Linked DNA regions of Homo sapiens: region 1 is linked to region 2. Evidence: promoter capture Hi-C in 16 types of primary human blood cells and fetal thymus (Javierre and others, 2016). All regions are on one chromosome and are shown on one strand. Each heading gives the region's core, a stretch centred on a gene start or on the middle of the fragment in contact. The rest is flanking DNA. Distances are from core to core; before and after follow the strand shown. Region 1 holds the start of LOC124905123 (a long non-coding RNA gene). Region 2 holds the start of MRTFA-AS1 (MRTFA antisense RNA 1).

Evidence for each region. Contacts are between HindIII fragments. The CHiCAGO score rates a contact against its expected background, and 5 or more counts as called.
Region 1: a fragment that was not itself captured here is called in contact with the fragment with the promoter of MRTFA-AS1 in region 2 in 1 of 17 cell types (megakaryocytes); the score reaches 6.1 in megakaryocytes.

What each region holds. Positions count from the first base shown.
Region 1 is chr22:40,682,392-40,686,243 of GRCh38, forward strand. It overlaps LOC124905123 (a long non-coding RNA gene), which reads right to left and starts at 2,539. Exons shown (of 3, transcript XR_007068110.1): 1 at 2,352-2,539. MCHR1 (melanin concentrating hormone receptor 1) reads left to right here. Exons shown (of 2, transcript NM_005297.4): 2 at 1-421. RefSeq lists enhancers at 1-144, 1,306-2,001, 2,002-2,697 and silencers at 714-1,008, 734-1,028. The HindIII fragment of the contact is 8,253 bases long and covers 1-3,852 here.
Region 2 is chr22:40,520,049-40,523,534 of GRCh38, forward strand. MRTFA-AS1 (MRTFA antisense RNA 1) reads left to right here and starts at 1,752. Exons shown (of 4, transcript NR_109965.1): 1 at 1,752-2,925; 2 at 3,318-3,392; 3 at 3,477-3,486. All of the region lies in intron 3 of MRTFA (myocardin related transcription factor A), which reads right to left. The HindIII fragment of the contact is 4,880 bases long and covers 1-3,486 here.

The DNA of each region.
Region 1 (3,852 bases), core at 710-3,209, 160 kb after region 2:
AGGTGGCCTTTCTCCCAAGCTGGTGGATAATGAAAAATAAAGCATCCCATCTCTCGGCGTTCCAGCATCCTGTCAATTTCCCTTTTGCTCTAGAGGATGCATGTTTATTTGAGGGGATGTGGCACTGAGCCCACAGGAGTAAAAGCCCAGTTTGCTAGGAGGTCTGCTTACTGAAAACAAGGAGACCTGGGGTGGGTGTGGTTGGGGGTCTTAAAACTAATAAAAGCTGGGGTCGGGGGGCTTTTGCAGCTCTGGTGACATTCTCTCCACGGGGCACATTTGCTCAGTCACTAATCCAGCTTGAGTGTCCGTGTGTTCTGCATGTGCAGGGGTCATTCTAGTGCCCGGTGTGTTGGCATCATCTTTTTGCTCTAGCCCTTCCTCTCCAAAATAAAATCAAATAAAGGAAAATCTCCACCCACATCACTCTGGATGTTCTTGTGGACTTGGGGGTGGGTGTGGGCTGGGGCGGGGAAGGTGGGCAGCAGAAAAGAGAAAGAGGGGTCACTTGGTTGTGGAATTTAGATCTTGGTTCATGCTGCATTTTTAGGAAGCATGAAGCAGGGATCTGTTTTTCTGAACCCACAGGGAGGATTCAGTGGCATAAATGGAATTACTGGGGATTCATTAGATTTTGCAGTTCTGCTGCTGGGCTTGTTCTTGGGACTCAGCTTCCTGTCTTCTGCACAAAATCCCCTGGGCTTTGTTGTCATCAGTGATGAGTCCTCAGGCCCCAAGTCCCAACCCCCACTCCCCCGCCTCAACCCTCACCCCCGCTGAGTCACCAGCCGCAGAGCCAGCTCTTAGGGCAGCTGAAGCCTCTCTGCTTTCTACAGCTGAGATCTGGTGTGGGCACCTTGAACAGAAGATTACAGCCGGGGCCACTGGGAGGCAGCCACGACTGCTGCTTGGCTGCTGCTTCTTGGTGTCTTCACTGAGAGGGGACTGGGAGCCGTCAGTGCAGTGCTCAGCAGACCTTACTGAGAGAGCGGGAGAAAGCTGCAAGCATCCTGAAAGCAGGGGCAGCAGCACAGCCTGTTCCTCTTCAGAGCTGCAGCAGGGAGCCTCTTCAGAAAACTTCTGGGCAGCTTCCTTGGGTCCTGGGGACTTTTTTTTTGAGACAGAGTATCGCTCTGTCGCCCAGGCTGAAGTGCAGTGGTGTGATCTCTGCTCACTGCAAGCTCCGCCTCCCGGGTTCACACCATTCTCCTGCCTCAGCCTCCCGAGTAGCTGGGACTGCAGGCATCCGCCACCACGCCCGGCTAATTTTTGTATTTTTAGTAAAGACGGGGTTTCACCATGTTAGCCAGGATGGTCTCGATCTCCTAACCTCATGATCTGCCTGCCTCGGCCTCCCAAGGTGCTGAGACTGCAGGCGTAAGCCACCGTGCCCGGCTTTTTTTTTTTTTTTTTTTTTTGGACACAGGGCCTTGCCCTGTTGCCCAGGCTGTAGTGCAGGTGACATGATCACAGCTCACTGCAGCCTCGACCTCCCAGATTCAAGCAATCCTCCCACCTCAGCCTCCCAAGTAGCTGGGACCACAGGCGCACACCATCATGCCTGGCTAATTTTTTATATTTTGTAGAGACAGGATCTTGCCATGTTGCCCAGGCTGGTCTCAAACTCCTGGGCCCAAACAATCCTCCCACCTTGGCCTCGTGGAATGCTGGGATTACAGGCTTGAGCCACCACATCCGGCCCCTGGGGAGCTCTTTATCACAATCATTAGTATTTCCTGGCCTGTGTTCCCCTCCACCCAGCACCTGGGGAGTAAAGAAGCTGATGGTTATTTTCCTTACTCACTAACAGTAGGGTCTCCAGCTGCCACCCGTAACTTGAAATCTATTTTAGACGCACACTCAATAAAAGAAGATTCTGGCCAGGCGCGACGGCTCACACCTGTAATCCCAGCACTTTGGGAGGCCGAGGCAGGTGGATCACCTGAGGTCAGGAGTTCGAGACCAGCCTGGCCAACATGGTGAAACCTCATCTGTACTAAAAATACAAAAATTAGCCAGGCATGGTGGCACGTGCTTGTAGTCCCAGCTACTTGGGAGGCTGAGACAGGAGAACCACTTGAACCCAGGAGGCAGAGGTTGCAGTGAGCCGAGATTGCACCATTGCCCTCCAGCCTGGGCAACAAGAGCGAAAACTCCATTTAAAAAAAAAGAAAAAAAGAAAGAAAAAGAAAAAAGGATTCTTAGGGAAGCCTTGAGGCAAATCCAAAAAGACCCAATTCCTAGCCACAAACGTGATAAAAGGAGGTCTTCCTGCATCGGGTTTGTCTACTGGAAGGCTTCCCTGGGTGTCCATCAGCCCCAGCCCCTGCCTGCTCCTCACTCCCTCTCACCTTCCAGCACTCCAAGGAGGAATCCCAGAGAGGAAACAAGTGAGACGGCCTCTCCCAGGGAATGCACATCACCAAGTCAACAGCTCACAGTGGGTGGGTGGGTAGGCACACGCCCAGCGAAAGCCCCAGCAGCTCCTGGGGAAGGGGGCATCCTGTCCTTCAGCTCTTAACCCCACACTGAAACAACTGAAATGGAAGCAGAGTGGGTGGAGTCATGAAAGTGGGTGGGTAGCAATGTAAACCTTCCGGAGGGGAGAGGCGGAGGGGAGAGATGAGTTAGGGAGAACAGGTGGTCGAGGGGAGAAGTGGGGCAGGGAGGCTTAAAGGGTGGGGGATTACGATGGGAGCTGCCACCACCACATCTCTCCCCAGCCTGATTCCGCGGTAACCGGGACACACTTGCGATGTGGATGAGGGGAAGCACAGGCAGAGGTGAGCGCTGGGTTGCTGGCGAGGCATTTTCCTGACATCGCTGGTGGGGATGGTGGACCAAGTGCAGAGCTGGGGTCTGAGGCACGAGGGGAACTTTCTTTTCCTCTTCCTTAAGCCTGGGGATGTGGCCAGAACCTTGGGGAGCTGTGGAGGCCACTGTGAGCTGCAGACAGAGTCCAAGAAGCGGGTGAAGACCCTGCGGTCCATCTCTTTGCTCCTTTCCCTCTTCCCACATTTAACAATTAGTTTCTCCCATGGGGGCCCCATCAAGTCATCTCCTCAAACCTGGCCAGTGCTTCATCCACTGCTGCCTTATCTTCTCCCCAGAAAATACTTCTTCCCCAACTGTGAGGATTATGCTCCGAAACTACCCCCCAGCACCTGGTAGACTTTCACAGCTGAGAGACATTGACCTCAAAGTTTAGGTTGCAAGTGAGTCCACAGAACCACTTCCGCACATTGCTGTTCACAAGAGAAGCAAGAAGAGCACCAAACACGGCAACTGGCATTGGGTTTGTGTTTGCTTGTTCCTTTCTGAATCATCAGTTTTCATTTAATTAATTAACTTATTTTTATTTATCTATTTATTTTGAGACAAGATCTGGCTCTGTTGCCCAGGCTGGAGTACAGCGGTGTGATCTCAGCTCACTGCAGCCTCGACCTCCTGGACTCAAGCAATCCTCCCCCAACTTCAGCCTTCCAAGTAGCTGGGACTACAGGTGCATGTCACTATGCCCAGCTATTTTTTGTTTTGTTTTGGTGGAGACGGGGTTCCACCATGTTGCCCAGGCTGGTCTTGAACTCCTGAGCTCAAGCAATCTGCCCACCTCAGAGTCCCAAAGGGCTGGGATTACAGGTGTGACCCACTGTACCTGGCCTAATATACATATTTATTTATTTATTTATTTATTTATTTTTATTTATTTTTGAGACAGAGTCTCGCTCTGATGCCCAGGCTGGAGTGCAGTGGTGCAATCTCAGCTCACTGCAATCTCTGCCTCCAGGGTTCAAGCAATTCTCCTGCCTCAGCCTTCTGAGTAGCTGGGATCACAGGCATGCGCCACTACGC
Region 2 (3,486 bases), core at 502-3,001:
GAGATATATTTTCATCCCTAGGGTTTTCTTGTGTCCCTTTGTATTCAATTTCTCCTTCCACTTCCAGCCCCAGGCAATCACTGATCTGCTGTCACTCTAGAGAAACCTGAATTTTTTTCCTCACACAATTTAAAAAATTGAGATACAATTCACATACTATAAAATTCAACCATTCAAAGTGCATAATTCCATAGTTTATCGCAACTAATTCCAGAACATTTTCATTGCCCCAAAAATAAACCCTGTATCCATCAGCAGTCACTCTCCATTTCCTGTTCTGGACATTTCATTTAAATGGAATCACACAATATGTGGCCTTTTATGTCTATGTCCTTTCATTTGGAAAATGTTTTTAAGGTTCATCATTTTTTTTTTTAAGACGAGTCTCGTTCTGTCACCCAGGCTAGAGTGCAAGTGGCTTGATCCCCGTTCACTGCAACCTCCATCTCCCAGGTTCAAGCGACTGTTGTGCCTCAGCCTCCCGAGTAGCTGAGACTATAGGCACATGCCACCAGCCTGGCTAATTTTTCTGTATTTTTAGTAGACATAGGTTTCGCCATGTTGCCCAGGCTGGTCTCAAACTCCTGGGCTCAAGCGATCCACCTGCCTTGGCCTCCCAAAGTACTGGGATTATAGGCATAAGCCACCACACAAGGCCAAGGTTCATTCATTTTATAACATATATCAACAGTGATTTCTTTTTATGAGTGAATAATATTCCATTGTATGGATATACCATATTTTGTTTATTCATCAACTGAAAGACATGTGGGTTGTTTCCACTTTTTAGCTATTTTGAAAAAGCTGCTATGAACATTTGTCTGTGTAAAAATACACAGACAAATGTTTTCAGTTTTCTAGGATATATATCTAGAAGTAGAATTGCTAGGTCACAGGATCTATGTTTAACTTTTTGAAAAGCTGCCAAATTGTAGTTTTTAAACTTTTCATTCTGAGATAATTATAGATTCACATAATAAGAAATAATAAACAGCTCATGTATAAACTTTTCATTCTGAGATAATTATAGATTCACATAATAAATAATACAAAGAGCTCATGTATCCTTTACTCAGTTCCCTCCAATGATAACATCTTGCAAAACTACAGTACAATATTACAACCAGAATACTGGCACTGTTAGTCAACATACACATTTCCATCACCCTGAGGATCCCTCATGTTGACCTTTTATAGCCACATCTACTTTCAGCCCCACACCATCCACAGGCCCTGACAATATGAAGAACCAATCTGTGCTTCATATCTATAATTTTGTCATTTCAAGAATGTTATATAAATAGAATCATACAATAGGTAACATTTTAGGATTGGCTTTTTTCACTCAGAGTAATTCTCAAGAGTCATTCAGGGTGTTTTATTTCTAAAACGTTTAAAGTTTGCCCCTTTTTAAAAGTTGCTGAGCAGTATCCCACAGCCTGAATTAATTAATTAATTAATTAATTATGAGACAGAGTCTCACTCTGTCACCCAGGCTGGAATGCAGGGGTGCAATCTTGGCTCACTGCAACCTCTGCCTCCTGGGTTCAAGCAATTCTCCTGCCTCAGCTTCCCAAGTAGCTGGGACTATGTGTGCCCGCTACCACGCCTGGCCAATTTTTGTATTTTAGTATAGATAGGGTTTTACCATGTTGGCCAGGCTGGTCTCCAACTCCTGATCGCAAGCGATCCACCCACCTTGACCTCACAAAGGGCTGGGATTACAGGCATGAGCCACCACACCCGGCCTCAAATGAATTTTTGGGATGGTACAAGGTAAGAGTCAATGTTCCCTCTCTCTCTCTCCTTTTTTTTTTTTTAAGACGGAGTCTTGTTCTGTTGGCCAGGCTGGAGTGCACTGGCACAATCTCGGTTCACTGCAACCTCCGCCTCCCAGGTTCAAGCGATTCTCCTGCCTCAGCCTCCTGCGTAGCTGGGATTACAGGCGCACGCCACCACGCCCAGCTAATTTTTGTATTTTTAGTAGAGACGGGGTTTCACCATGTTGGTTGGCCAGGATGGTCTCGATCTCCTGACTTCGTGATCCACCCACCTCGGCCTCCCAAAGTGTTGGGATTACAGGCGTGAGACACTGCACCCAGCCCTCTCTTAATTTTTTTAACATACAGATAGCCAGTTCTTTCCTGATTTGTAAGTTTTTATTTAAACCAGAGTTAGAAAAATAATTAAAATAACACTACCTCTAAACACTCAAAACCACTGCTATGACATAATCCTGCCATTTCAGTAGAACAGAAAATCCCCACGCCTTCCCCTCAGCTCGGAGGGCACAGGACTGGGCAGCAAGCTCCACCAGTTTGTAGAAGGAGTTCAACTTCCAGACAGCAGGGAAATGCCTTTCTCTGAAGTTATTACATGAGTTCACACTGAAGGGAAAGAAGAAAGTGAGCCTTATCATTTTCCCAAGATGCTGTGAGATGTGTTGGATTTACTCTCACTCATAATTGTGCAGGATGGTTGTTTTGTTTTGTTTTGAGGCAGGGTCTCACTCTGTCACCCAGGCTGGAGTGCAGTGGTGTGGTCTCAATTCACTGCAACCTCTGCCTCCAGGGTTCAAGCAATTCTCCTGCCTCCGCCTCCCGAGTAGCTAGAGTCACAGGTGTGCACCACCATGCCTTGCTAATTTTTGTATTTTTAGCAGAGATGGGGTTTCATCATGTTGGCCAGGCTGGACTCCAACTCCTGACCTGAAGTGATCCGCCCCCCTCAACCTCCCAAAGTGCTGGGATTACAGACGTGAGCCACTGTGCCTAGCCACAGGTATGTTCGGGATGGTTTCAACCAACATCAATAGAACCAACTAAGAATAGATGGCCTTCAGCAACACAGAGGGGTAGCACAGGAGTTCCAAAGATCAGTAGTTTGAAAATCAGGTCACAGGGAGTCCACGCTATATGATCTTGGGTAAGTCACTTAACATTCTTAGCCCCCCGTCTGTTCACCTGTAAAACCAAGGTTTGTTATCAGGTCATGTCTAAGATCCTTCCCAGTTAAACATTCTAGAATGCCAAAAATAAGCCTATTTGTTCTTTCTTTGAAAAATGAAGAAAAATGGCAAAAAAAAAAAAAAGTTGTCAAATTGTGAACGTTTATCTAACACAGAGAACTATACCAGGAGCAGGTTTTCTTTTTTGTTTCCTGTTTTACCCTATTCTTCCATACTAATTAGACATCATATAAATCCCACATATAAATCCAACACATCTCATAGCATCTTGGGAAATAAAAATAAAATATCTTTTGGAACTGAACTTCTCAACTTTAATATGCATGTGACAATCTTTTTTTTGAGATAGGGTCTCACTTTGTGGCCCAGCTGGAATACCGTGGTGCAAACACGGTTCACTGCAGCCTTGACCTCCCAAATTCAAGTGAGCCTCCCACTTCAGCCCCCTAAGTATCTGGGACTACAGGTGTGTATCACCATGCCTGCCTAATTTTTGCATTTTTTGTAGAGATGAGGTT